Linked DNA regions of Homo sapiens: all the other regions are linked to region 1. The links are contacts of gene promoters, found by promoter capture Hi-C in blood cells and fetal thymus (Javierre and others, 2016). All regions are on one chromosome and are shown on one strand. Each heading gives the region's core, a stretch centred on a gene start or on the middle of the fragment in contact. The rest is flanking DNA. Distances are from core to core; before and after follow the strand shown. Region 1 holds the start of XXYLT1-AS1 (XXYLT1 antisense RNA 1). Region 2 has its middle 140 kb from the start of LINC01972. Region 3 has its middle 160 kb from the start of XXYLT1-AS1. Region 4 has its middle 140 kb from the start of XXYLT1-AS1. Region 5 overlaps XXYLT1 (xyloside xylosyltransferase 1).

Evidence for each region. Contacts are between HindIII fragments. The CHiCAGO score rates a contact against its expected background, and 5 or more counts as called.
Region 2: a fragment that was not itself captured here is called in contact with the fragment with the promoter of XXYLT1-AS1 in region 1 in 1 of 17 cell types (monocytes); the score reaches 5.2 in monocytes.
Region 3: a fragment that was not itself captured here is called in contact with the fragment with the promoter of XXYLT1-AS1 in region 1 in 1 of 17 cell types (endothelial precursors); the score reaches 6.8 in endothelial precursors.
Region 4: a contact is called between a fragment that was not itself captured here and the fragment with the promoter of XXYLT1-AS1 in region 1, in 1 of 17 cell types (neutrophils). The highest score is 6.8, in neutrophils.
Region 5: a contact is called between a fragment that was not itself captured here and the fragment with the promoter of XXYLT1-AS1 in region 1, in 1 of 17 cell types (megakaryocytes). The highest score is 5.5, in megakaryocytes.

The regions. Positions count from the first base shown.
Region 1 is chr3:195,091,862-195,097,863 of GRCh38, forward strand. It overlaps XXYLT1-AS1 (XXYLT1 antisense RNA 1), which reads left to right and starts at 2,727. Exons shown (of 4, transcript NR_104188.1): 1 at 2,727-2,817; 2 at 3,424-3,516; 3 at 3,738-3,846; 4 at 4,059-4,196. The region is part of intron 3 of XXYLT1 (xyloside xylosyltransferase 1); the gene reads right to left. RefSeq lists enhancers at 2,168-2,237, 2,358-2,527, 2,598-2,647, 3,112-4,311. The HindIII fragment of the contact is 5,440 bases long and covers 1-4,895 here.
Region 2 is chr3:194,906,627-194,912,628 of GRCh38, forward strand. No RefSeq gene overlaps it. Among named protein-coding and RNA genes, the nearest start is that of LINC01972, 140 kb to the left of the region's middle. The HindIII fragment of the contact is 5,087 bases long and covers 18-5,104 here.
Region 3 is chr3:194,929,759-194,935,760 of GRCh38, forward strand. No RefSeq gene overlaps it. Among named protein-coding and RNA genes, the nearest start is that of XXYLT1-AS1, 160 kb to the right of the region's middle. The HindIII fragment of the contact is 2,158 bases long and covers 1,473-3,630 here.
Region 4 is chr3:194,947,742-194,953,743 of GRCh38, forward strand. No RefSeq gene overlaps it. Among named protein-coding and RNA genes, the nearest start is that of XXYLT1-AS1, 140 kb to the right of the region's middle. The HindIII fragment of the contact is 5,514 bases long and covers 159-5,672 here.
Region 5 is chr3:195,236,344-195,242,345 of GRCh38, forward strand. All of the region lies in intron 1 of XXYLT1 (xyloside xylosyltransferase 1), which reads right to left. Among named protein-coding and RNA genes, the nearest start is that of XXYLT1, 32 kb to the right of the region's middle. RefSeq lists an enhancer at 3,699-4,261. The HindIII fragment of the contact is 1,233 bases long and covers 2,661-3,893 here.

The DNA.
Region 1 (6,002 bases), core at 1,477-3,976:
CAAGCATTCTTATACACCAACAACAGACAAACAGAGAGCCAAATCATGAGTGAACTCCCATTCACAATTGCTTCAAAGAGAATAAAATACCTAGGAATCCAACTTACAAGGGATGTGAAGGACCTCTTCAAGGAGAACTACAAACCTCTGCTCAAGGAAATAAAAGAGGATACAAACAAATGGAAGAACATGCCATGCTCATGGGTAGGAAGAATCAATATCGTGAAAATGGCCATACTGCCCAAGGTAATTTACAGATTCAATGCCATCCCCATCAAGCTACCAATGACTTTCTTCACAGAATTGGAAAAAACTACTTTAAAGTTCATCTGGAACCAAAAAAGAGCCCGCATCGCCAAGTCAATCCTAAGCCAAAAGAACAAAGCTGGAGGCATCACACTACCTGACTTCAAACTATATTACAAGGCTACAGTAACCAAAACAGCATGGTACTGGTACCAAAACAGAGATATAGGCCAACGGAACAGAACAGAGCCCTCAGAAATAACGCCGCATGTCTACAACTATCTGATCTTTGACAAACCTGACAAAAACAAGTAATGGGGAACGGATTCCCTATTTAATAAATGGTGCTGGGAAAACTGGCTAGCCATATGTAGAAAGCTGAAACTGGATCCCTTCCTTACACCTTATACAAAAATCAATTCAAGATGGATTAAAGACTTAAACGTTAGACCTAAAACCATAAAAACCCTAGAAGAAAACCTAGGCATTACCATTCAGGACATAGGCATGGGCAAGGACTTCATGTCTAAAACACCAAAAGCAATGGCAACAAAAGACAAAATTGACAAATGGGATCTAATTAAACTAAAGAGCTTCTGCACAGCAAAAGAAACTACCATCAGAGTGAACAGGCAACCTACAGAATGGGAGAAAATTTTCGCAACCAACTCATCCGACAGAGGGCTAATATCCAGAATCTACAATGAACTCAAACAAATTTACAAGAAAAAAACAAACAACCCCATCAAAAAGTGGGCGAAGGACATGAACAGATACTTCTCAAAAGAAGACATTTATGCAGCCAAAAACCACATGAAAAAATGCTCATCATCACTGGCCATCAGAGAAATGCAAATCAAAACCACAGTGAGATACCATCTCACACCAGTTAGAATGGCAATCATTAAAAAGTCAGGAAACAACAGGTGCTGGAGAGGATGTGGAGAAATAGGAACACTTTTACACTGTTGGTGGGACTGTAAACTAGTTCAACCATTGTGGAAGTCAGTGTGGCGATTCCTCAGGGATCTAGAACTGGAAATACCATTTGACCCAGCCATCCCATTACTGGGTATATACCCAAAGGACTATAAATCATGCTGCTATAAAGACACATGCACACGTATGTTTATTGTGGCATTATTCACAATAGCAAAGACTTGGAACCAACCCAAATGTCCAACAATGATAGACTGGATTAAGAAAATGTGGCACATATACACCATGGAATACTATGCAGCCATAAAAAATGATGAGTTACTGTCCTTTGTAGGGACATGGATGAAATTGGAAATCATCATTCTCAGTAAACTATCGCAAGTACAAAAAACCAAACACCGCATATTCTCACTCATAGGTGGGAATTGAACAGTGAGATCACATGGACACAGGAAGGGGAATATCACACTCTGGGGACTGTTGTGGGGTGGTGGGAGGGGGGAGGGATAGCATTGGGGGATATACCTAATGCTAGATGACGAGTTAGTGGGTGCAGCGCACCAGCATGGCACATGTATACATATGTAACTAACCTGCACAATGTGCACATGTACCCTAGAACTTAAAGTATAATAAAAAAATAAAAATAAATAAATAAATAAATAAATAAAATTAGATGCTACTTCAAGCCATTACCTGGGGAAAGTAATTAGACTCCTCCGAAAATAACAGCAGTTCTGCTGCCACTCCTGGAGCCTTTCTTCTGGAATTATCTGGCCGTCCTCCCGCTGCCCTTCTCCCCACAGCTGTTCAGGGTGCAGAACTGCCCACTGGGGAAAAGGTGCCCTGACTCCAAGCGCATCCAAACTAATTAGGAGCCTATCCTCCCCCAGCCCACGTCCGTGGAGGCGCCATACCCCCAAGGCCTGGTGCAGTCAAGGGGAGAGTGTCAGCTGCTCCCCTCGGGGACAGTGGCAGCTCCTCCTCCTCCTCCTCCTCTTCCTCCTCCCTGTGTGGAATTTCGTGGGCTGGCTTGCTGGGGAGGCCATGAAACATGAAATTCACAGCACTGGCCTCTCCTGTTCCTAGGTCTCAGACTGAGGGAAAAGCATAAAGAAACGCTGGCTGTGGACGCACCTTGGAAGGAGGCAAAGGAGAAAAGAAAGCAAGCACCCGACACAGCCCAGCGAGGCCCCAAGGAGGCCCCACGCCCCACTGCCTGTCTGCACTCTGCTGAAACCCACATCCACGCCCCCAGGCCAGCTGGCATCTTCCACGCTTCCCTGCTCTCTTGGGGCCTCCTCCCTCACGCCCTCAGTGTCACCTCGCCCTTTGCCCAAGACCAACAGACACCTGCCCACACGCATGCAGGCCCAGAGTGGCCCGACCAGGCTTCCTCGCCCCTTGTTCTGTCCAGACACAAAGCTGACATGGGAGTCCGGTCGGCAGACTCATCCCCACACCCTGTACAAAGCTGGACACCCGCGGAGACCTCCGGAAGCCAAGATCTAAGCGCTTCGATCCCACATTCACAAGCCCCCTCAGCGGGGATTCCCAGACGCACGCTTCTCCTGAGAGAGTCCAGCCCCTCCTGGCGGCCGTGGTCCCTGGATGCGGGTGCTCGAGGCCTGTGTGGGTAATCACGCTTCCCGTCTCCACGCCACCCTTCCCCCACAGAGTCGCCTGCCCTTCCACACAGACAAGGGGCCACAAGGCCGCACCTTCCCCTCTCCACACAGCCTGCGAAGGCATCGCAGATGCCATTCTGATTAGCAAATGCTGCCTCTGCTCCACCACGCACCTGTTCTGTGGCTCAGCTCTGCCACTGGCCCTCCAGAAGGTTTTCTCAGCTAACCCCACTGGCCTCCACCTCCCCTCCCAGGGTTCTCTCACATAAGAGTTACTAGATGCAGGGCAGTGCTTCCCAGACCTTACTGTGCGGGGGAAATGTGTGTCCGGGATCTGGTTAAAATGCAGACTGGGATTCCGCATCGCTGACAAGCCCCCAGGTGATACCAACGCTACTGGTCTGCAGGCCACACTTTTGAGTAGTGAGAAGGTGGAGGTAAGAGTGAGGACTCTGAGTCAGGGAAAGTGTGTTCTGGCCCCAGCTCCACCAGAACTAAGCATTACATCTCATGAGACTGCCGTGAGGGCTGCATGAGGTAATGCAGTGTCTGGCTGTCGCGGGAACGCAGCGTGCACTCGCAAATGCAAATTCTCTTCCTCTTGCTCCAGTCTTCTCCCTGTGGCGGTGGTGAGTGTAATGCCTCAGAAGACTCTGCCAGGGCATTAAACAAAGTCATACGCGAACCCCCCGGTGCACGGCAGGTGGGTGATGTGGGTTCTCCTTCCTTGCCTTCCACCATCTGGGACTGGGGCCAGCACAGAACCTGTGCCCCATATGGTCAGGGAAGGCAGGGGGACAGCTCCTAGAGCTGAGCCTTGCAGATGGGCACTCTTACAGCCGGGCCTCCACATCCAGTTTGAGTGCTCATGTGTGGTGTTGGGGAAAGGGGTCGTTCAGGTCACACTGGTGGGCAATTCTTCAGGGGACTTTGTCACCTGTGTGCTTATGCGTGAGCAACAGCGCCTGATGACTCTTGGGAAGAGCCACAACAAAGCGAGGGCCTGCAGGCGGCAGTGGCCAGGGAACCCTAGGTAAGGCCCTAACACGTGCGGTCCCCTGATCTGCGGGTGGGGCAGCCTTCACTGGAGGGGGAGTGAGTCTCAGTGAATCAGAGTGGGTACATGTGGAGCTGCAGGTCAGCAGCTCAACAGGGATGAGTAAGGTGCTTTCAGAGGCCACGTTAACCACATCTGGCTGGGAAGGAACCAGTTAGCAAACCTCTCTTTCCCTGCCCTGTTTCCAGCCCACAGGAACTCAAGCAGCTTCAGAGAAGGTCTTACTTGTTTCCGGGGAGAGGCCAGAGGCTCCGGGAACCCAATTCAATATGTAATATATAGCAGTGTCCACGCTATGGTCTAAGCAAAGGCAAGAGGAGAAATAAGGTTGATGGATGGCTCCATCCTTAGCACGCGTTTATGGACACCCACCCAGCCTTCTCCCAGCCGCCACGGCTCTCCACACACAGACAAAAGCAAAGCCCTTTGACCTTAAGCAGAAAAGTACACTGTCTCAACATACTTTTATAGAGTACCTGCTAAGCCTGGGGCCACCTAGGGGAGATTGGAGGGTCCCTCTAGCATGGCTGCAGCCCATGCACAGCAGGAGGATCTGTGTGGCCAGACGGGGAGGCTGGTGACAGTGGCGCAGACACAGCACTCAGAGGCCTCCAGGTGCGGAGAAACAACATGTGACGCAGACACCATGCTCTGTTCCCAGTGCGTCCCCAACACACACACGTATATATACACGACCATGCCCATGTGCACTTACATAATACACATGCACATACGCACACGTGTACGTAACAGACGCACATGCTGACAAACACACACGATACACACACACACACGCATACATTTCCTCGGCCTTCGGGAAAATGGAGTTCAACCTCCCATCTGAAGTTGAACTCGTTTCTTCAGAAGTGAGTCTGAGTCTTCATTTCTCAGGCACAGATGTGCAAGGAAACCATTCCTTCTCCTCCTCAGGCCTTCTCAGTGCCCTGGTAATATTTACACAGTTATTTAACAAGCAAGGCTGAGCTTTCCTTTCAACTGGCAATTAAAATCAGAACATAGAGACAAGCTTTGTAAAGCTTGGTTTCCATAGAGGATAATTTTCTTCCATGGGTTTAAAAAAATGAGAATCTTGACTGAAACTGTAGGTACTCACGTCAACAGTAATGCCCACTCAGTCTTCCAAATTGAGATAGAATGTGACTACCTTTTGCTGGAGGTTAGAAATAGTTCAAATTTGTATAATTTGTTTCCCAATTTAATAAGAAAAACAACAGGGGTGAAAATGGTCAGGCTGCGCTGAGCGCTGGGCAAAGGCAGGCTGTTCTGATTCCCGCCCAGCAGACCCCTCAGACGGGCTCCCCTGGCGTCCCTCTGCTGGGACTTCCCATGTCCCTGTTGTCTTGAAGAAAGGAACAAGACATATAGGCCGGTTCATTTTTAATCTGCTGCTGGTGTGGCCCAGTCCCCTCAACCAGACTGCTGGCAACTTTAAGTTGGAGACAGTTCTTGGAAGCAGGCTCAGTGCTGAGTTGGTTTTGACATAAGAATACATACACAGACAGACAGACAGAGAGATATACTGTAGCTGACATTTACTAAATGCCAGTCACCTTTTAAACAATTTATATCAATGATTTCATCCTCACTAAACTTTGTGACGCGGGTTACAGCAATGGCAAATGCGTATCAACACGTATCTAGCACCACGTGTGGGTTACAACAGCAGCAAATGCGTATCAACACGTAGCTAGCACCACGTGCCACCACATGCAAGCACTGTTGTGTTTATATCTGTGACCTCATTCAGCTTTCATAAACTTATGAGGTTGTTATTATCATGATCCCCACTTTATAGACAAGGAAACTGAGGCTTACAAGGGTTAAGGAATTGAGTCAAAGCCCCCCAGCTAGTAAGTGGTGAGGTCTGGATTTAAACCCAGGCAGCCTGGCCTGGAGCCCCCACTGATAAGACTGTCCTCGGCTGCCTCTCAGTGCATGGCGAGCACCCTGTGAACAGTCGCCAAGATAAAACCCAGCCCTGAGCACCTCCGCTGGGACCACACAACTGCTTCTGATTCTCCGGGGGAGTGTGAGTGGAGAAAAGACCCTCACACAAATGCCCCCACCCCCCCACCACGCACACACAAAGAAGTCAGGCTGGGCAGGAAAGA
Region 2 (6,002 bases), core at 1,311-3,810, 190 kb before region 1:
TTTGAATATTTCCAGGAAGCTTTAGTTTTTTACACCTACTACCAAAGTGTAAATGCTTTATAAATATTACCAAATACAAATATTTTACAAAGGCTACCAAACTTAATATTTCTTCTTATTTGTTAAATAAAAATTTTTAGATATCCATAGTAATGAAGAAAGAGCATGAAGAATGTTGGAGAATCTTTTTTAAATAACTTATAATTTTGGTAATTCTGGAGAATTCCCAGAAATTCCTATTTTTTTATGCCAAAATCCCAAAGATCAATGTCTGTCAAGAATTTGGAAATAGCTCCTGGCATCTTAGGCCTTTAAGACTGTTCATTGAAGGAAAGAATAAAGGAAGGGACAGGATCCACAGCACTGCGGTATTTCTCGCATGGAAATAGAAGAGAAGGAAAGAGCTAGATACTCTTTGTCTAGATACTAATAAGGTGACTAAACCTATGGCTGTGGGTAGAAAGTGTAGTTGTTTCCATGAAAGGCCTCTGTCTTCTAATGATACAAAATTAGGGTCATTCATTGAGAGGAAGGCAGGAAGTGGCTGGCAGACAGGGCTCCTAAGAGACTTACAAAGGTTTGAAATTACCCCGAGGGAGGATGAGAGTTGCCGTGGAATGCCTGGGAGGTCTTGTGGGTACCAGAGTTCTTAGCTGAAGTCTAAGCACTCACTACAGTAGAGAAAGGAAGCACGCGACAGGCTCCCAGTGCCACAGAACCTTATGGATTTTCTGAGTAGGCCCGGGGTACCCACATCCACACACAAGCACAGCCACACACACGCTCTCATAAACCGCATCTGGAACAGTGTGTGGGTGTCACTAACAAACTGCTATCCAATGTCCACACAGCCCATGGTGTGAGCTATCATGAAAGGGTGAAGTCAGTGTGACCCAGGATGGTCTGCCAGGAAAAAATCCACTGCAAACAGTAGGTGAGGAGAGGAAGACACACTCTAGCAAAAGTGGCATATTGGGCCGGGTGCAGTGGCTCACGCCTATAATCCCAGCACTTTGGGAGGCTGAGGCAGGTGGATCATGAGGGTCAGGAGTTCGAGGCCAGCCTGGCCAACATGGTGAAACCCCGTCTCTACTAAAAATACAAAAATTATCTGGGCATGGTGGTTCATGCCTGTAGTTCCAGCTACTTGGGAGGCTGAGGCAGGAGAGTCGCTTGAACCTGGGAAGTGGAGGTTGCAGTGAGCTGAGATCGCGCCATTGCACTCCAGCCTGGGTAACAGAACGAGACTCTGTCTCAAAAAAAAAAAAAAGTGGTATCTTGGAGCAACTGGATCTCGTGTCAAGAATGATTGTGTTTGAAACTCCTTGACTCACCCTGCATTTCACCCCTTCCCTACAAAACCATGACTACCAGCTCTAGGAGGAACCCAAATTTGGCTCTTCTCAAAAACTAAGAGTCAGGTGGCCTGGTTTCCAGCCTCAGCTATATCACTAGTTTAGTGAGTGACCCTGGGCTTCTCTGAGGTCCAGCGTGATCTTCTGGTTAGTGGGGCATTTCTCTAGGCATGTTTGTGCTCTGTTAGCTTTCTGCCTCAAGAAACAGAGACTTACATATAGTTCTGCACCTGGAAGGACATTCAGAGTCCAAGGTGCCCTTTGTGGGTTCAGTGTACACCTGTGGCAGCTGCAGGGGCTTGCTGTCCTTAGCTCTAGTACTCATGTTACTATAGATGGAGCTAGGTTCCTTCTGTGTGTGTGTGTGTGTGTGTGTGTGTGTGTGTGCATGTGCGTGCACTTCTCCTTGGATGCCTGCTTGCTTCTGTCTCTCATGGACCATTCAGAGAGAGAGAGATAATCTGATTGGCTTGGAAACATCCATCTTTCTGGTTTGGGCTTAACCTTTTCGGCTAAGCCATCTCATAGAACAGTTGCCCAGCCTACAGCTCAGCTGCCTTCGGGTCAGGTGCCCACCACAACTCTCTCAGCTGTGTCCAGAAGGGATTGGCCATGTGACAGAATGTGGCAACTGTGAGCTCAGGACTCCCCCAGCTGCTCCCTTTTGGGGGCTGTAAGACACCAGGCATCCTGCTCCCCAGAGCTCCCTCCAGCTCTGGCACTTATGGAGGTTAACCTATCCCAACCCCATGCTCCACCTCCTAATAACATTTGATTGTATGCCAGCTGGTGCCGGACTCTGAGCTGGCGGGCGTATGTTACACTCTATACTTCTCTCAGTGGCTCTCCAAGTTAGATGGGCCCGTCTTTACAGAAACAGAAACTAAGGCCCAGTAAGTTAAAGTCACTCAGATAATAAGGGGTGGAACCAGGAGTAGAACATAGGTCTATGTAATGCTAGGACTTATTTTCTTTCTATTGTTACCCTTATGTTTCCTTGCAAAATCTTTATAATCAATTTCTCCCTTAGACCCTGCATCTCAAAGAACAGTAATGTATTCAAGAGAAGAACAACCATGGCAGGAATCTGACAATAATCATCCATATCTACTCCCTTCTCCAAGCAGAAGTGCAAGGGTTCGCAGGCCAGCCCTGCCTTCCAGGCCGCTGACAACATCCAGAGCTGGCTACACAGCACGGCCCCCTCCAGGCCCAGCAGAGGCGGCAGAGAGACATCCCGGAAATAAATTAAAACAGACTGATTATCCTCTCTGGGTGTAGCTTAAACCATATCAGAAAAATTGCCTAGAAATAAAATTGGATAGCAGCCCTGACAAACCAGTGCAAGTAATTATATCAACTTGATGGCAATAATTATTTTTCATAAAACTCAGTTACTTCCCACCTCCAATAAATCTACCGTAGGATAATTCTGTAATATGTTTTCACTGTACATAAAACCAGGAGTCGTCACCAAGTGTGCCGTGAATATGCATTGAGTTTCATACCTTCTCCAAAGACCTTGAACTGTCTGTGGATCCTGCAGCTCATTGACAAACACCCGGGCCTCACAGATGCCAGGACAGCTCTTTGGGTAGGGCCTGGGGGTTGTGCCATGGCCTGGTGTCAACCTTGCAGCACTTCTGAGTTTTGCTAAGAAACAGTCTTCACGGTGTTAGGGAGGACACTCTGACAAGATGGTGGCGGGGAGGAGAATGGAGAACATTAGGGGATTTGGATCCATTAAGCACCCTCCTTCCATTTCTCCTGTTTCTCCTCCTGTTCTACGGTCATAGACACACAGCAGTAGTTCCCTCTTTTAAGAGAGCGTTGGCTGGGTTCGGAATGCGGTGCACTAGTCCCAGCCTTGCCAGTCAACCTGCTGTGGCCTTGCTAACCCTCATCGCTTCTTTGGACATCTGGTTTCTCATCTGTAAAGATACAGATAATGCCACTTTACTTCATTTATTTATTTTCTTTTTTTTAAAAAAAAATATGAGATGGAGTCTTGCTCTGTCACCCAGGCTGGAGTGAGGTGGTATGACCCAGCTCACTGCAGCCTCGAACCCTTGGACTCAGGGAATCCTCCCACCTCAGCCTCTTGAGTAGTGGGGTTACAGGCCCACATCTCCATGCCTAGCTGCTTTTTTTTTTAATTAAAGACTTTATTTGAAGAAAATTTAGGTTCATAGCTGTATCAGTCTGTGCTCGCATTGCTATAAAGAAATCCCTGAGACTGGGTGCTTTATAAAGAAAAGAGGTCTAACTGGCTCATGGTTCGACAGGCTGTACCGGAAGCATAGAGGCTTTTGCCTGGCTTCCGGGGAGGCTCTGGGAAATTTTAGATTGTGGAGAAAGGCGAAGGGGAAGCAGAACTGTCTTGAACGTTTTATACGGCTGGAGCCGGAGCAAGAGAGAGAGGCTGGGAGGTGCTGCACACTTTTAAACAACCAGGTCTCATGAGAACTGTATCATGAGAATAGTACCAGGGACAGGGTGCTAAACCATTCATGAGAAACCACCCCAATGATCCAATCACCTCTCACCAGGCCCCATCTCCAACACTGGGGATTACAATTCAACCTGAGATTTGGGTGGGGACACAGATAAACCATATCAACAGCAAAACAGCAGGAGGCACAGAGATTTCCCATATATCTGCTGCCCCCACACTTATATCGCTCCCCCATTGTCAACATCCTCCACCGAATGGTATAGTTGTTACAGTCGGTGAACCTACATTGCCACGTCATCACCCAAAGCTCATAGTTTACATTAGGGCTCCCTTTTGGTGTTGTACATTCTATGGGCTTGGACAAGTGTATGATGATATGTAAACACCATACGGTGCTTTCACTTCCCTAAAAATCCTCTGTGTTCCAACTATTTCACCCATCTGTCCATTGTGTGTTGCTATAGCAAAATATCCGAGACTGAGTGATTTATAAAGAACAGGAATTTATTTCTCACAGTCTGGAGGCTGAGACGTCCAAGAGCAAGGTACTGGCAGGTTCAGTTGTCTGTGACAGTTGCTCTCTGCTTCCAGGATGGCGTCTTGTTGCTGCATCCTATGGAGCGGGGAATGCTGTGTCCTCACATGGCAGGAGGCAGAAGGACAAGAGAGCCAAATGCTGTGAAGCCTCTTTATAAGGGCCTTAATCCAATTCATGAGGGCAGGAGCCCTCATACCTAATTGCTCTTACAGACCTCACTTCTTAATACCATCACACTGGCCATTAAGTTTCAACATCTGAATTTTTAAGGGGACACATTCAAACCATAGTATCATCTCCCCCCAAACTAATTCATTTGGTTCTGTGGATCTTCCTTAAGTACCTCTTCTGTGCCAGGCACTGTGTTCAGTGTCTCCAGCAGTACTTGAGACTGTCCTCGACTTCCTGATGCTGACAGTCAAGGGGGGAATACAAGCCAACATTGAATTATAGGTGTACTGGTTATGATGATGGAGAAACAGGAGATGCAGCAGGAGCATTGAGCAGGGGATCTAATCCAGCTGGTTGGTGGGGGGATTGGCGAGGAGTAGTGGTAGGGAAGGCTTCCCGGTGGTAGTGACACTTAAGCTGATACCTAAAGGAGAATGTGGAGAGAGTCTCTGGCAGAGGAAAGGTGCCAATGGCTTAGAATAGGGAAGCACCTTAGCCCAGAGCCTGGAATTCCTGGAGGACAGGAATTGTGTCTTGGTCTTCCTCCTATGTCATGGCTGGACAAGTGTTTGCTCATCTGTAACAAGCTTGTGAAGCAGGCATTGTGATCTAGACCCTATAGATATGAGCCCGACCCAGGCCACAGTCTGCTTTTGGTAGAACAACATCTGCCATCTTCCAAACCAATGCTGTGTCCAGATATAAGGGTCAGATGAGGTCCCAGATGTGAGGGTCAGATGAGGTCCTAGAGGCAACAAGAGTTTGAGACCTAAGAGCTGCTGAACACATGACACCTGGTGATTATTTCTGTAGATTCCTTCCTTTTTTCTCTCTCTGAATGGCAACCACTAGGACTGTGGCTCCCAGAACAGCTGCCCAGCTGCCTTGTTTTCGCTTGGATGTAATTTCTGAGTGAGAACTTTATACTTGTGCTTCTCTTCTCCATCTGTGCCTGAATTTGAAATTCCAAGGAGCAGTCCTCCTCCGCTGCTGGAAGCTGGAAAGGTGCCTTCTCCTTAGTCCCCGGGAAGCCCACCTGCTCCCCTAGGGTCCGATCAAGACTGCAGGGCTCCTCATGTTGGCCCACCAGACCCTCCCAGGAGCTGCCAGTAAACCTGGTACAGATTGCACGGGAGGGTAGAAGCATATATTTCCATATTAATTGGTTATTTAGCATCACTTTAAAAGGTTGACAAGTCTCAGACACATCATTTTGACTATAAACAAAAGGAGGCTCTGCTATCTCTTTTCGAATTTGAGAGCGTTGTCAGCTGTGCCAAGGGACCTCTACTTTGACTTGAATTCTCATTATTTCAGAGAAAGTTCTCCCTGGTCTTTGGTCTTATTCCTAACCAATCCCTTAGCCCTAAAGACCCTCACTATCGCCCTCCCCATCTCCTGGGTCAGGGGAGCAGAGGGAATCAGAGAGAGTCCATGTTTTTCCCATATGACACAGAGTCTGGACAGTCTGTGGCTGTGCTCA
Region 3 (6,002 bases), core at 1,302-3,801, 160 kb before region 1:
ACAGCCCAATTTCATCTGGAAAAGCCAATACTGCTACACAAGGATTTTTTTTTAAATTCCAAAGCAGTGAAGTAGTTGGAGCTCAGTAGCCCAGAGATGTGAATTATGCTCTCAACTTCATTATTTTAATGTTTAATTTGAGCATTTTTTTTTCTTTTGAGACAGAGTCTCACTCTGTCACCCAGGTCTTCATGTCCCAGGCCCAAACAATCCTCCCATCTCAGCCTGAGGAGTAGCTGGGACTATGACCGTGTGCCACCACACCCAGATAATTTTTTTTTTTTTTTTTTTTTTTGTAGAGACAGGGCCTCACTGTGTTGCCCAAGCTGGTCTTGAACTCCTGGGCTCAAGTGATCCTCTCATCTCAGCCTTTCAAAGTGCTGGAAATACATGTGTGAGCCAGTGCGCCCAGCCTCAAGCATCTTCATTATGATATGTATAAATATGTATCTATTTCAGCAAAGAAGAGAACTCATCCAACAGACCATACCAGACAAAGCAAAAATTGTGTAATTTTACTTTTGGCAACATCTCTATTGCATTGACTGGAGAGGGTTTGGCACTTCCCATGGAAAGGATGGCAATTTAAAGTAAAATATTATTGAAAACTTTATCCACTTGTGTTGGAGCCAAGTAGCAAAAGAGACACTAGAGTTTCTCCTGTCCTGCTGCTAACATCATGGTCTCAAGTCCAGGCACAGTATCTAGAAATACGTTTCGACATCCTGCCTGACGTCTTCCTGTAGCATGGCTGGCACCATAATTGCAGAAGAACATCCAGAGGCAGGTCCCTTTACTAACAGCCGTGCCTGCATTTCAACAGCCACTGGACTGCACCTGTGGAGAGAATCACTGCAGCCAAAATCTCTTTGTGGTAGACAAAAGCACCAAGAGCTTGTTGTGTTGAAATCAGGAAGGCACACTAGGGTGAGTAAGAATAATTTGCAGACAGACCAACCACTAACTCTATAGCCTCTTTCTAGAGGAGGTGAAAAATGCTTCCATTAAAATCCTGTATTTCACATTCTCTAAATATTTGAGCTTCCTGACAGGCATTCTTCTCGGAGTTGGGGAGGAAGCTTGACTCAGCTCAGCTTTGTAGGCCCATGAAGTCTTGAGGCACACACCAATGACAGGATACACTTGTGCAGCGTCCCAGGGTCAGGAGAGCTGGAGCAGGTCCAGCTCCTCCACAGCTTGGGGCATGGTGGGCAGGCAGCAGAGAGGAAAACAGTGGGAAAAGCTGGACAAGGACTAATTGAAAGCCAAGGTCGTTACTCTGATTCAATCATTCCTTCCTGGAAAGAGAGCGGTTTTGTGCTTAACCTCGTGGCCTAAGGTTTCCAGGATATTGCTGGCTCCTGGATCTCTCTGGGGCCAGCTTATTTACCAGGCTTCTAGGCCCAGGGACAGAAGGATGTCAGAGGAAATTACTCAAATGGGACACAAAGAGAAACCAAAGGCAAAGAAAAAGCTTTTAAAAATGCTGCTCACAGATCCTTCCAGTAGAAATTGCAATCAGTTAAACAGATGCCACATTTTTACTGCCCACTACAGCTTTAAAGTGTATTTCATGGAGTTTCAGACTATTTAAATTTTTTTCCAAAAAGAGTGTCATTTGGAGAATGTCCAAAGGGAGAAAAGCAAATTGATAACTTCTAAAAAACTCACTTTAACCTTTTACAAGCCCGTCTCTGAATATGCCCAAATGTATGCAAGATCTTCCTTAAAGTTTTCCAGAGTGAGAGGACAAAGTGCCTGTCTACCAGGACAGCCTTCCCAGTTTCCTCCTACACAGTGTTGGCTGGAGCACGTCAAAGCAGACCGTGTTTTAACTTAGTGCTTTGCCATTCCTTGGCATGTGGTCAGTGACCTGAGAAGCAGAGTCCACACAGATGCAAGTGAGGATGCCAGGAATGGGGAGCGTGACCTGGAGGACCTCTGTGATGAACTGAATAAAACCAAGGTGAGCAGGGTCCCAGAGCAAGACAGTGGTGTCTAATGGACGTCTTTCTAAAGAAAAGACCCGATGAATCTCTGAAGATCTCCCTTGGGGACAATGAGGCAGATTTGTACCTTAACCCCAGAGGGCCAAAGTAGGAACAAAAGGGAAACAGGATTTAGTTCCATACAAGGAAGAACATTTTAGCTGGATGCCCCAGGGAGCAGTGAACCCCCTGACCTTGGCCTACCTCTAGTGTACCCCAGGTGACTGCTGCCGGGAAATCTGTGGAAGGGACTCTTGTGTAGACAGCAGAACCAGCCTAGAGTGTCTGCAGTAAGTATTGACTCAGAGAAAGGCAGGGCAGTAAAGGCATATTTCCCCAAGGAAGGAGGCCTTCTGGTATCAGCATTTCCAGTTCCCAGCAAAGGCATATTCTGAAAAGGTCATTGCACATAAGCACTGGAACTTCTGAGGGTAGGGCCTTAACGGATTCATTTTTGTGCTCCTCTGTAGTAAAGGAATGGATGAGGAAGTGAGTGAATGGAAACTGATCTGCTCTCAAGGAGGGTGATAGGACACTATGTACCCCCAGCCTGGGGGACAGGCAGAGGAACAGCGCAGGAAGGCTAGGAAAGTATGTTGGGGCAAGATTATGAAGACCCTTAAGAGGTAGATGGAAGAATTTGCATTTAATATGGCAAAATAAGCCTCAGCCTATGCCCCTGCCTAAATGTAGGAAACGGTCAGCTCACACTCCCAAATCTCCCGAGCTCACAGCTCCAATATCCTCTTGCTCACACCTCAAGTCTCCCCCACCTCACACTCTAAATCACCCAAGGGCACACTCCAAATATCCCCTCGCTGAGGATGGTTGTAAAGTATTCCATGGGGTCTTTTCAAGACTTAATCCTTTCTGGAACCAAGTGATCAACATCCTTGTCTACCCAATCTCTCCAAGACTGTGGCAGAGACGGCTAACATTATCAAAGACTGATGTTTCTTTGCCAACCCGTCTTTCAGTGAGTCAGGGTAGTCTAACTCCTGTGATAAAAACTTCAAAATTTCAGTGGCCTAACACAATAGACATTTATTTCCCATCATGGCAGAGTCCAAGGCAGACATTTCTGGGCAGCCTTCTGTGATTGGCTTTGTCTGTCTTGAATTCTTCCCTCTGCTAGGACCTCAGAGTCCTCTCATTCAGCTGGTGAATCACAAAAGAGGCCACAGAAAAGGCACACTTCTTAATCATCACAACATATTAGTGAAAGACAGCAGTTCTATTATTATCTTATTCGTGAAAACTAGTCTTTCACCTAGCTGCAAGGGAGGCTGGGAAAAACAGTCCCTAACAGAGAAACTAAAGCTGCTTTGTAGCCACAGCTCTACATTCCAGAAGATTCTTTAAAGTTCTACCTGAACCTTAAAGAATCACTAAATATGAAGTGTGGGCTGGCAGGGGGTTGCAGACTCTGAGACTGCAGACACAAGAGGGGCTCTCACATACAGACTTCTCCAGAAACCTCCACCCCATGCTCTCAAGAAAGATTGGACAGGAGAGAGAACAGGAGAAAGCCACCCTGAGAGGTGCAGTCCTGCAGATAGGAGCACTGATGCTGCAGGCAAAAGCATAAAGCCTTGTCCAGGATCTTCTCCCCTGAGGCCTTAAGCCAGTAGGGAAAGGGCAAAGCTTGCTGTCCCAAGAACACTCACTGTAAGTAGGAGAAGGAGTAAAGATGAAAACTTCAACCTCTGAGGAGGGGCAGAGACCACCCTGGCTGGATCCAGCTGATTAGAGGTCTTCTGTTGGGTGGGTGGTGGGGAGGGGGCAGAAAACTCTCTTGGGCACAAGAACAGCCTGAAATACACGGCAGTTTGGCCGCCACAGGGAAGAGGGGCAGGATTACTGAGAAAGCTCCAACCTCCAAATCAAGAGACACACAAGGCCTGCCTAAGACTGAAGTTGAATCAGGACAACGGGACACACCCCTGTCCTTGTCACCATCCTGTTGGTCAGGCTGAGGCACTGAACAACAAGCAAAATCTCCTGTTGGCCTGTTTTCCTGCAGAACCAGAAACGATCGGGAATGCTGAATTCTCTGGGTCATAGAATTTCAAGCCTCAAAGGCAGTGTGTGAGTAAGGGACCCTAAAGAGCTCCCCCTGTCTATTTGAATTTCAGGCCCGCAGACATCATCGGTGCTGTGAAGAGGGGAGCTGGGAGGAGGGTGTTGACATGAACACATCAAACTTTAGCACATCAAACGAAGAGGTCAGTGGTTCTTACAGTCTAATAACAATGGAAGAAAACACGGGCAAAGGACATGAATAGAAGTCCAAACAAATGACCAATCAACACGTGAAAAGATGTTCGAGCTCACTCCTAACTAAAGAAATACGAACTAAACAAGCCAACACCATTTTCATCTTTCTGATCAGCAAAGATGGAAAACTCTGATATCACTTTGTGTTGACAACGGCGTGGGGAAGCAGACTTCAGAGGCAGAGACTCTTAGTGTGCATTTGAACTAGTGCAGCTTTTTGAGATGGCAATTTCACACATATCAAAATGGCCAAAGTGCCATTTCACTCTTCCATAGTTATCCAACAAATAAACATTGGTAGAGTCCAAAATTTCATGGAAATACAGTCAAGCGCCATACAACTATAAGTACATTTCAGTCAACAACAGACTGTCTATATGACAGGGGTCCAAAGAGATTGTAATCCTGCATTTTTACTGTTCCTTTTCTATGTTTAGGCATGTTTAGATATGCTAATACTTACCATTGCATTACAATTGCATGCAGTATTCAACACAGTAACATGCTGTACAGGTTTGCAGTGGAGGAGCAATAGACAATACCAGACAGTCCAGGTGTCTAATAGGCTACACCATATTGGTTTGTGTAAGTACACTCCATGATGTTTGCACAATGATGAACTTGCTTAATGTATTTCTCAGAACATATTCCCCTTGTTAAGTGATGCATATATAAATATATAAATATCCATGGCTATTCATCACATACACCAACCTGATGAGTCTGCTTCCAAATCGCCAGTGGTATTAATAGAAGGCCCCAGCTTGGCCTAAATATATGGTCAGAGCCGCTCTGCCCCAAGCGCAGCCCTGTGTGCAAAGTGACCTGGAGCTTTGGTAAAAGTCTCCCTCCAAGACAGCTGGAAAAGGCAAAAGAAAGATTCTGTTTCTTGCGTTCTGGAGATGCTTTCTTCTCAAAGGTAACCCCATCAGGGTGTAACAGCCCAGGGTTCACCTTGCCTGTGGCCTGAACAGAGCTGACTTATCAAGACAGGAAGATTGCAATAGAGAAAGAGTAATTCACACAGAGCCAGCCGTGTGGGGGACTGGAGTTTTATGATTACTCAAATCAGTCTTCCGAGCACTAGGGGATCAGAGTTTCTAAGGATAATTTGGTGGGTAGGGGAAGGCCAGTGAGTTGGGAGTTCTGGTCAGTTGGGTTGGAGATGAAATCAGGGAAGTGAAGCTGTCCTCTGGTGCTGAGTCAGTTGCTGGGTGCGGGCCACAAGACTAGATGAGCCAGTTTGTCAGTCTTGGTGGTGACAGCTGATCCACCGAGTGCAGGACCTGCAAAATATCTCAATCATTGATCTCAGGTTTTACAACAGTGACGTTATCCCCAAGAGAAATTTGGGGAGGTTTAGAATCTTGTAGCCTCCAGCTGCAGGACTCCTAAACCATAATTTCTAATCTTGTGGCTAATTTGTGAGTCCTGCAAAAGCAGTCTAGTCCCCAGGCAGAAAGGGGGTTTGTTTTGCGAAAGGGCTGTTACCATCTTTGTTTCAAAGCTAAACCATAAACTAAGTTCCTCCCAAAGTTAGTTCAGCCTACGCCCCCAGAATGAACAAGGACGGCCTGGAGGTTAGACGCAAGATGGAGCCAGTCAGGACAGATCTCTTTCACTGGAGTAATCGTCTCAGTTATAATTTTTGCAAAAACAGTTTCAATCGTGCAACAGAAAAGTCAACAACAAAGTTCAATCTGACTTCAGGAAAATGTGAGGAATTATTTAGCCCAA
Region 4 (6,002 bases), core at 1,666-4,165, 140 kb before region 1:
TATTCAGAGGATGCTCTTGTACACCAATATCTGTGTCTCCTTTTCTTGTTGGGATACTAGTAGACTGACTTTCCAAGAGCTCTTGCATCTAGTGGGGCTATGTGAATAGTTCTTGTCAATGGACACACCCTTGCAGGTTTGTCCTAAGAACTTCCACAAGCTTCTTCGTGATCTCTTTTTCCTCACCTGCCAACCAGTTATCTGAATCCAGCGAAAAGGTTCAGTGCCCTACCAGGTACCCAAGCCACACAATGGAACTTGTGTGTCAAGAGAAAAATATCTAAAAATCTTAAAAGATAATTCACCTGTTAAATCCCTGAATTAATGGAACAATGGATCCCTGAGTGACAACATGGAGCAGAGCTCTCACTTCTGTCACTTCCACTCGAGTCAATCAACATTGCACTGTGACATGAGGAGGATAAAATGTTTATTTTGTATTAATTGTTACGTTCCACTGAGATTTGGCAGCTGTTCGTTTCAGCAATTAGTATTTTTTGACTAATATAATAATTCATTTCTTGAAGTGGGGTACTTCCATGACAAAAACTAAAATACAAAGGCTGAGCAAAAAGGAAAGAGATGTAGCGGGTTAGGTAACTGGAGATCCATGTTATACTCAGACAGACAAAACATTTGGTAAAAACTATTGCCTATTATAACCTGGAAGTAAAAAACACATGCTCTAGGAGAGGCGGAAGGAAACGAGTAAACAAGAATATTATGCTGTTTTGCTTGTTGTTGCTGCATTCGGCAAGATATTACAAGAAAAACAATGAGCTCAGAAAAGAACTGCTCAATTCACAAGAAGAAATGAAACAGAATGGAGAGAATCAGAAATTCGGGACACGCAGCAATGGGGAAAAAAAATGACCTCTTCTAGAAAACTCTTTCCTCTTTGGGCCTTATTTTTCTACCTCCCCAGATAAAATTAATCTCGTATTAGTGGAGATCTGCTAACTGTTGTAACAATCCCCTGTGTTTAGTACAATGAAAGTTTCTCTCTCAGACACTGTTCAGTGTCTGAATTTTAAAAGGTTTTGAACAAAGAAGACCCAATGAATCTTTCTTCTCACTAAACACAGTGAATCACCTCTGAGGCAAACATCAACTCATGGATTGTACCTTTCTACCCAAGTCTGATAGCCTCAACATAGCCATCATTATGTTAAGAAAGAATGGCATGAGGAAGCAAACAGAAAGAAGGCAGCATTGAGAATTATGACTCGGAAAAAAAATAGGGGTATAATTAATAGCATGTTATTCAATCTGACTGGTATCCTTATAAGAAGAGGAAATTTGGCACACAGAGTGGCTCAATGAACTTGTACACAGAGGCAGCCATCTACAGGCCAAGGAGGGGGATCTCAGAAGAAACCAAAGCAGGTTGGACACGGTGGCTCACACCTGTAATCCCAGCACCTTGGGAGGCTGAGTTGGGCAGATCACCTGAGGTCAGGAGTTCGAGACCAGCCTGGCCAACATGGAGAAACCCCACCTCTACTAAAAATACAAAAATTAGCTGGGTGTGGTGGCAGATGCCTGTATTCCCAGCTACTCGGGAGGCTGAGACAGGAGAATCACTTGAACCTGGGAGGCGGAGGTTGCAGTGAGCTGAGATTGCGCCATTGCACTCCAGCCTGGGCAACCAGAGCGAAACTCTGTCTCAAAAACAAAAACAATAACAAAAAAGAAACCAAACCTGCTGAGACATTGATCTTGGACTTCCAGCCTCCAGAGCTGTGAGAATTGATGGGACACAAATAGATTAGAAGCCTCCTAAGTTGTTGAGAGAACTGTGTTGCCAACGAAGCCAGGAGACTGGGTTTAAAGGGTTTTGAACATCCCAACAACCCAAAGTTCCTAAATTTGGAGCTAGATACAGGGACTGGATGGGACTTTGCTTATCCTCCCCTGGGAGGAAAGCCAATGACAGGCTGTGGCAGAGACTGCTAAGGAAGGCTCCTACCCTGGGTTCATCCTGCTACCACGTGCATCCGTTTTCTAGGGCTGCCACAACAAAACACCACAGACTGCGTCCCTTAAACAACAGGCATTTATTTCCTCACAGCTCTGGAAGCTGGAAGTCCAAGATCAAGGTGTCAGCAGGTTTGGTTTCTTCTGAGACCCCCCTCCTTGGCTTGTAGATGACTACCTTCTGTGTGCAAGTCCATTGAGCCACTCTGTGTGCCAAATTTCCTCTTCTTATAAGGACACCAATAAGATTGGATAAGGGCCCACCCTAACAGCCTCATTCTAACTTAACTGCCTCTTCAAATGGCTCTGCTCTCTATGCAGCCACATTCTGAGGTACTGAGGGTTAGGATTTTTAACATGTGAATTGAAGGGGACAAAATTCAGCCTTCACATCTAGGTAGGCCACATACTCCACTTCCAGCCTGGACGCTTTCAAACCACCCGTGACACCTGTCACGGTTGCTGCTTCCCTGCCTGTCACGCTGCTGCAGAAAATCCAGGAGGAGGCTCCGAGGCTCTGGAAGACAGGGAGACCACGCCAGGGAAGGAGACTGGGTCCTGAGTGGGTGTGCACAGCAGCACCCTCCCGCAACCTGTCCTGGACAGGGTCTGAGGCAGCAGCGTGCACTGAATGAAGCCCCTGAGACTTCAGGGTTGAATGTCACGGCAGTTGGCAAGTCCCCACTGACACAGACAGGTTTATTTTGGGCGTCTTCACCAGGACTCAGCCAGGCCTGCCGTGTGTCAGGGCAGAGAACCACGCATGTCGGCACCTGGCTTGCATTTTAATAAAAGTTATGATTGGAGTTGTATGGGCTTAAGAAAAAACATTCAAACACTGAGTGAGAAAATCTGGCACGCACCTTCCCTAATGACATTCTCCAAGTAACAATTTTAAAAAAAGGTAGAGGCCACGCACGGCGGCTCACACCTGTAATCCCAGCACTTTGGGAGGCCAAGGCGGGCAGATCACGAAGTCAAGAGATCGAAACCATCCTGGCCAACACAGTGAAACCCTGTCTTTACTAAAAATACAAAAATTAGCCAGGTGTGGTGGCGGGTGCCTGTAGTCCCAGCTACTCGGGAGGCTGAGGCAGGAGAATCACTTAAACCGGGGAGGCAGAGGTTGCAGTGAGCCGAGATCATGCCACTGCACTCCAGCCTGGGCAACAAGAGCGAAACTCCATCTAAAAAAAAAAAAAAAAGAAAAGGAAAGAAAAGAAAAAAGAAAGGAAAAGAAAAAGAAACGAAAGAACAGCAGCCTTCCTTCCTGCTAGCTGTGAAGGAATGGCTCTGAGTCTCTACGTTGTTCCCAGTTCCAGAGAGGCACCCTCGTGTGTCAAGAGAAAAATATCTAAAAATCTTAAAAGATCATTTTTGAGATTGTGAAATGCGTGTGTGATGGTGAGTTCCTCGCGTCTGCAGAAGTCTGCTGCCACTTGATTGACTTGGCTTCCAAGGCTGGTTCTGTGGAGAGCCGTCCCACCCAGGTGCTCAGCCTGGAGTTGAGATCCACCCCAGGGTTCTGGATGCAGGGGTCAAGAGTCCACCTCCCTCAAACAATTCTAGTCAAGTGTGCTTTCCAGAAACGGAAATCTTTACTATTTTAGCACAAATAGAAAAATAAACACGCATTGCACACGTTTGCCTCCCCACCCCCTGCAGAAATAAACACCCCACTAGAGGACATAATCCGGAGCAAGGCTGCGGGAGACATCCAGGCTTTGACGCTGGCCTGGTGCCTCATAGAGGCAGCGTCGCACGGCGGTTAGTCACCTGGGCTTTGGCATTAGGCCGTCAGGTCCAGAAACTCTGCTGACCACTGGGCAGCTGCCTGTGGCTTGGGGAAGTTATTTCAGTTCTCTGAGCATCAGATTCTCCATCTATAGATAGATGTGGTGATAATAATAACATCACTTCCCGCAAAGGGTTGTATGTGATGAAACAAAATCATGCATAGAAAACACTTAGCAGGCCGGGCGCGGTGGCTCACGCCTGAATCCCAGCACTGTGGGAGGCCGAGGCGGGTGGACCACAAGGTCAGGAGATCGAGATCATCCTGGCCAACATTACTAAAAATGCAAAAATTAGCTGGGCGTGGTGGCACTTACCTGTAATCCCAGCTACCTGGGAGGCTGAGGCAGGAGAATTGCTTGAACCCAGGAGGCAGAGGTTGCAGTGAGACAAGATCACACCACTGCACTCCAGCCTGGGTGACAGAGCAAGACTCTGTCAAAAACAAAAAAGAAAGAGAGAAAGAGAGAAGGAAGGAAGGGAGGGAGGGAGGGAGTGAGGAAGGAAGGAAGGAAGGAAGGAAAGAGAGAAAGAGAGAAGGAAGGAATAAAGGAAGGAAAGAAAGAGAAAGAAGGAAGGAAGGAAGGAAAGAAAGAAGGAAGGGAGGAAAGTAAAGAAAGAAAGGAAGGAAGAAAGAAGGAAAGAAAGAAAGAAAGAAAGAAAGAAAGAAAAGAGAAAACAGCAGAGCCCGTAGTGAACACTCAATCAAGATGAGCCATTATTACCTCCTCCTGCTAAATTCGACTTTCCTTCCTCACTTCAAGAACTTCCAACTCTCCCTATTGCTTCAGTTGCTGGTGAGCTGTTTGCGGGACCCCTGTGTCCCCTGGGTGTCCTCTGGGTTCTCCTGCCTGTGTTCCTCTCGCTGCTGCCCAGACACCAACCCCAACTGTCCTGCTGAGAGCAGGGTGGAGTGCTGCTGTGTGCGTTCCACCTGGACACCAACCAGTTTCCATTCTGTGAAATTTCCTCTTCTTCCTTGGCTTTCATTTCCACCCACTGAAAACATTTGTGAGTTATTTTCTTTGTTTAACAAACATTGAGTATGCATGTAATACAGTTTCGCATTTCTAGCCTAATTATTATTCTAAATCATCACTTAACTTTCATATGTAATGTTTACTGATTTTATAGCAACTGTATATATAATTAATCAGTGTACTTTGGATTACTAGTTTTTGATACTAGTTTTTGATACGCGCTGTATTTGTTAGTCCTTGGAAATCTTGATGAACAAGCTATTATGCTTACATAATACGATAATGACATGGAAATAGGTTCGCTGCAAACATAGGGAAAAGCTGTCCAAGAAGCCCTTGGCTCTTCTATCTTGGCTCTGGGGGCTCTTGGCCTGGATCCTGTCACCTGTAGACACTGGAATAAGCGTGTTATCCAGCAGACCTCAGTGAGCTTTGGGGGAAGACCCAGAAAGCCCTAGCTGCGTGAGACGGCCCAGCCTTTCCCTTTCTCTGGCACTTGCTCGGCCTCTCCTGGCAAAACATCCCAGCCTGGATTCAGCCACCATCCAGATGCTGAGCCCCACCCCAGACCCTCTAAAGAGGAGGGCTCTATGCAAGTTGGCCTGTGGTATTTGCTGAAGGGAAGCAGATCCTGTCTGCTTTGTTATCAGCAACCCCAGATGACCCCAGCTCTCATGTGTGTGATTGAGAAACGCTTCCTGCTCGTACAGAAGCCACACAGGGGTTGGTGGGAGTGTGCAGCCTCCAGGTGAGTGTGTGTGTAAGTGGAGTGTCAGGTGGAGTCTCTTCAGCCTCTCTCTCTCTTTCTTTCTCTCTCTCTCCTCTCTCTCAAAGATTGTTTGACTTGGATTTTCACGACACTATCACACACAATGTCCCAAATGATTCTCAGAACAGCCCAGAGAGCTGCACAAGGGAAGAAGCTTGTGAATCTCACACCAGATGTGCCAGAGGCCGGAGGCTGCACTCTGCCTCTCATCCCATGGGAAGGGACAGGCACCCAGGAGCACTGTCCTGCCTCCTCTTCCTCCAGCCCACGCTTCGAAGAGCTATGACCTTGTCCTTAAGGGCTTTACAGGACCTCGTGGCTCCCTAAAGCCTGAGGCCCAAGTCCCTCACTTTTATGTGCTTTGATGGTCTTGCCACCTTCTTTGTTTGTTTGTTCATTTGTTCATTCATTCATTGAAAGAACATTTCCTGAGTTTTCTGGAAGAAGATGGGACACATTGGAAGAATAGATGTCTGGGAATG
Region 5 (6,002 bases), core at 2,027-4,526, 150 kb after region 1:
CCAGGCAGAGGACTCTCTCCCTGTGTCCAGTACCACCACAGGCCCATGGGGAGTGCTGCCAGAGCGCCACCAATGTTCACTTAATGCCCAAGGACTCTTTAGTCAGCTTGTGGTGAATGCTGCCAGTCCTGGGACTCTCTTCAGGGCAGTGAGCTCCCCTCTGGCCTGGGGTAGGTCCAGAAATGCTATCCCAGAGCCAAGGCCTGGAACTGGGGACCCCAAGGGCCCAGTTGGTGCTCCCCCTATGTCTGAGCTGGTATCTAAGCTGCGAGACACAGTCCCCTTTATTCTTCCCTCTCCTTTACTCAAGCAGAAGGAGTCTCTCCTCGTTAACCACCACAGCTGTGAATGTGCTGGATCCCATCTGAAGCCAGCAGGTCTCAGAGTCTCACCCAAGGCCCATGGTATGTACTACCTGGTTACCACTGCTGATTATTCAGGGTCCAGGGGCTCTTTCGTCAGCAGGTGATGATTCCTGCCATTACTGGGTCCTTCCCTTCAGGGCAGTAGGCTCCCTTCTGGCCCAGGGTGTCTAGAAATGTCATCTAAGATCTAGGGCATGGAATGGGGGCCTCATGACTCTGCCTGGTGCCTTATCCTACCGTGACTGAGCTGGTACCCAAGTTGCATGACAAAGTCCTCTTTACTCTCCTCTCCTCTAACAGAAGGAGGGGGTCTCTTTTGGAGCTGTGAGCTGCGCTGCCTGGGTTTGGGGGATAGGGGATGCAAGTGCTCCCTGAGCCACCCTGGCTGGTGTCTCATTAGGTCATGTAACCCCCAAGTCCACTGGCTCTGAGCCCAGCACAGCACTAGGACTCACCTGGGTGTTGCAGTCCTTGTGGCCTGGTTTATTTAGAACCCAGAACACTTTAACCTATGGTAACAAGGCTTGCTGGAACTCAAGTTCTGACTGCTGAGATGGGTGATTCTCCTCTGTCTAGGCTGGTCTAAATGCTCCCTCCGTGGGCATCGGCTGAGTTCTACCCACTGCTGGCAGCAATGAGTTCCAATGCAAAGTCCCACAACTGCTGCACTCTCCTTTCCCCGTCACACAGGTTCTCTCTGAGCACCATGTGGCCACCGCCACAGGGATGGAGTCAGTGATCAAGACTGTCTTTCCTACCCTCTGCAGTGCTTCTTTCGGTAATATGAAGTTAAAACCAGGTACTGTGATCGCTCACCTGATTTTTAGTGCCCACGAAGGTGCTTTTTTGGTGTAGATCGTTGTCAAATTTGGTGTTCTTGTGAGGAGGATGGTTGGTGGAGGCTTCTGTTTGGCCACCTTGCTCCACCTCCAGCCTAACCATAAAAACCTTTTATGCCACATTGGTCCTCCTCATTCCCTAAAACTTGTTTTATGTAACACTTTAAATCTTCTGCCTCATTATAAAAGCCTTTTTAAAAATGTCTTCATGCTTCTCTTCTAAGGTACCGTTTCCTTTATCCTTTTCTGGCTACTGGTTTGTTTGTTGTTTGTTTGTTTTTAATACTTTTTTCCAGACACAGAATCCAGACCAGTTCCTGCTATTTTCCAACAGAAATCTCAAATTATGTTTCTCATTCCCACACCCCTCCGCTTCCTCTCACCCCTGCCCCTGCGACCTCTCTGACAGGTTTCCCTACCTCCTACCTTCCCCACTGCCCCATTCTGTTATACCTCCAGAATTGTTTTCCAAATAGAGAAATTCGTTTTTCTCTCTCCCTGGCTTCAAGACCTCCGACGACTCGTCGCTCCCTTAGTTACAGTCCGAATCCTCTAGCAAGGCCTCTAAGCCGCTGCAATAGTGGTTCTGGCCCCGTCCCCCGACCTCCCCGCCTCGTGTGACTGGGCAGCACTGAACCAGGCAGTCTCCCGTCTACTGGCCACACCTGGATGACCTACATCCTTGCATGCCTGTACTTGCTCTTCCCACCGTCTGTAATTACCTCTCCCAGCCCCCATCTGCCTGGTAAGATCCTATCCAGTTTTCCAATCCTCCCCTCCAGCCTTCCCACAGCCTCCCACAATTCACCAGGCCCTTCCTAACACCCTGCATCGCATGGGGGCTCCACTCACCCTGTCTGACTCACTTTTCAGGGCTCTGTTTCTCTATCGGCTGCATGGGGCACTCCTCGTAGGCAGAGGCCGTGACTGCTCTGTGCCCTGTATCCAGCCACTGGCCACATGACAGGCCACCCATACATCCATACAGGTTTGCTAAACTAAGTGAACTGCACTTTGGGCAAGTAACTAAACCTCTCTGAGCCCCAGTTTCTTCGTGGGTAATACAGGACTGTCACCACATGCTTCCTGTGGTGTCTGTCAGGGCCATGTGGAACACACATTGAGCCCGGGGGTTGCCACACTGTGCTTACTCCTAAGTGTTAGCACCAAACCTCCTCCCAGTCCCCGAAATGCCTTCTCCCCACAGATCAGTTTTCACTCCTAAGCCAGCTTTTCCCTCCCTCCAAATCATCCCTATCCGTTCGAATTACACAGGAAGCTGGAAGCTGACAAGAGGGTTCTCGCAGAAGGGAAGGCCTCTGTGTTCACTAAGCAGGAAGAGAAAGAACGGATCTGCGCAGGCATACACGCAGAGCAGGGCTGCTGCAGCCAAACTAAGGGAGATGAAGAGCTATCCTCAGCCAGCTCACTCCCTACTGGCCCCATCTCACCCCAAAGCTTCACAGGAGACAACTGCATCCCATCAGCATGAATAGACTTCTGAGGACAAACTGTACTCAGTACATTGTTCCAGACGCTGTGCTGCCAAGCCTGCACCCATGAATATTTCATATAATAAATCTGCTTAAAGATAAATGAGTATGCTTCATGGAATAGACTTTATGCAGCAAGAGGCAAATCACAGACCCTGCAAGTGTGAATCAAAATACCCAGGCCTCCCAAAGACTAAAACAGGTTTGCAAACTAACCTTCCCAAGGATGGGCTGGCACCTGTCATACTCTGGGGTCCTTTGCCCAGACCAGGGGCTGATGCCTGGCAGTGCGGCAGGGGGCAGCAAAGCAAGAGTGAAGAGAGGAAATGAGAGGGATGGGGGAGAGAAAAGGCCACCCCTTCGACCTCCCCTCCTCCCTTTCAAGTCCCCCACCTCGAGAGCTGCAAGAAGAACATACAACCTGGGAAACCAGGAATATAAGATGACTTCCATACTGAAGGCAATTAGCCAATGAGAAGACACAAAACAATAGTTAATGCCAACCTGGAATATATGATTTTTAGGAATGTAGACAAAAAAGTCTGATCACGATTTGTAGGTTTTATTAATTTGTTTACATACACATACTTAAAAATCCTGTTGACTATAAAATACTATTTCCCACACCCAGCTTACAAAATAATTTCTCTTCAAACCCTTCGTGTGCATCAACAGCAATGCCTTTATGAAGCCCAGAGTCAAGCTGAGCCACCCAGAGCACGTCCTCCTCACCAGCTGTTTAGGATGTGTTGGATACGGTTCCCTGTGAATTTATGTAGAATGTTGGCATCAGAAATGTCACCCCAACCCACAAGAACCCATGTTCGTATCATGAGGGCAGTTGGGTGTTGTTTTTAATCACCTAATGACATTTCTCAAAGTAGGGTTCTTCACCGGCCTATAATCATATATTTGTAGCCATTCACTAACCTTCAGGAATATCCCACCCCAGGAATATCCTGCCCCAGAAATGATTAAATCTGTGTTAAATTTCTCTGCCTACTTTTATTTTTAATTACTTCTGCATCTAAATTCAGTAATGACTGAGCTTTCTTTTCAGGCAAAGGTGTCCTCAAACAGTACTTTGTTGTTCAAACTAAAATATGTAACCGAGAAAGTGCTGTGTGATATAAAAGACCTTGGAAAGGCTCAACTCTTTCGAAAGGGACAGTGTAGGGAGGAGGGGAAAGAGGTGAAGCTTGCCTCATATTCTACCATGCACAGCAAACTCAACACTTGTGATGCAGGGAGGCTGAAGCATCCATCAGTCATGGCAGAGCCTGGTGCCAGGCAGAAGCAGGCGTCTTTGCCACCCAGCCCTGTGCTCGCTGGCACTGAGATGCCTGAGAGCCAGGCCACCGCTCCTCTAAACACTCCCTGGGGACATAAACTCAGGCCAAGCCTTTAGCTCCATTTGGTGGAGAAAACTAATTTTATCACTTGGCCGGCCCCACTGGGAGTCAGGTCGCAGCCACACTCCTGAGCCAAGAAGGCACGTGGCAAGGGCTGGCCCCACGCACGGAAAGATGCCAGGTTTCCCGGAAATCCCAAGGCCTGTTTGAAGAACAGCCACTCCTCTGGCCACAGACAGCAACGCCACAGGTCGGCCGGAGGCCAAGGGTTCACCCATCTCCTCCCCATGCGCCGCCAGAGACCATCCCCCAGCACAGCTATTGGAGGGAAGGTGGTGGCACAAAGCTCAGGCACACTCTACCCAAGTCCAGCAATCCTGGTGCCCCTGCCAATGCTGAATCCACCTCCTGAAGGAACCATAAACTGGGGGACTGAGGCAGGAGGATCGCTTGAACCTGGGAGGCGGAGGTTGCAGTGAGCTGAGATTGTGCCACTGCACTCCTGCCTGGGCAACAGAGCAAGACTCCATCTCAAATAAAAAAAAGAGTCACTAAAACGCTCCAAACCTATAGGTAGATCAAACACAATTCTGAACGGAAGAGGTCTTAATGTATCAGAAAAGTCACTAAGTAAAGACATCTGCCTCCCAATTGGAAATGGCCTCTCCCACTCTCCCACTCTCAGGCCTCGTCAAGCCTGGCAGAACACCAAGGCCGACCTGAAGAAGCAGGGCGGGTCTTTCAGGACCGACACCTACTTGGCACATTCCCAAGGAGGAGCTGTTCACACCTTCTTGAAGCAAGGGCAGGTGCCCTGTGATGTCTGGTATCCATACACTTGGAGGACAAGCAAACAAAATGACAGGCTCTGAGGCTGGTGGTTGGGGACACAATAGACCCCACTATGGGCCCCACAGGATTTAAATTAGGGCACAGCTATTCTGTGTCCTGATTTTCATGTCTGAAATTGTATCAAACGTGTTTCCTTAAAGGAAGTTTTCCTGGAGCAACAGACAGATGATTGAGTGATGGATGGGCAGAGCTACACTACCTATTGATCTCTCCCCAAGGCTTGTCAGCAATTCCAACAAGAACTGGAGGAAAAATGACTTTCTGGGAAAACAAAACAAAACATTGTTTTCCAATTAACCTGCACCAAGAATGTGAAGGCGCATTTCCAGAAGCGAAGAAAAATCTGCTAACGGACTAGGAGTCTTTCATTCCTACACCCATGCCAGACACCTGAACACCCCAGGGCCTATGCACTGTCTACTCTGCTCAGAGAACCCTCCCCCAGAACCTTCTGCCTGAATCCTTCTAGCCATTCAGGTATCAGTTCAAACGTCACCTCCAGAGATTTTCCCTCACCAAAAAAGTAGCTACCACCCTCACCACCAACACACACACACATGCGCACAACACACACACACATGCACACAACATACACAGACATGCACACAACACACACATGTACCCATCAGTCCTGGCTATTGCATGACCAGATTCATTTCCTCCATAATACTTATCACCAGACATGTCATATTTTTCAGTGTTTAGTCACTTACTGCCCATCTCTCCCCAGCTCCCAGCCAGCCTGTAAGGCACCATGAGGGCGGGACCTTGTCTGTCGTATTCATTGCTGCATATCCAGCTCTTAGTCAAGTGCTTCCCATGCAGTGGAGGCTCTGTAAATGCTTGCTGCAGGTAGGAACGAGCAAATAAAGGGGCAGAGAGGAGGGGCGATGGGACAACTGTTTCAGACACAGAATGTTGCCCCGTGGCCCCGCAGCACCTGGGAACTGAGCAGTTCCTTCTGACCCCAGCATCTCCCCCGGGCATGTCATGTGCTTCTCCATCCCAGCCCTCACCCAAAGAGAGAGATTTCTTCCACATAGGACTTACTCTAAACATTCCGGAGCACAGGCCTCCTTCTCACCTTTAACCTGCTAGACA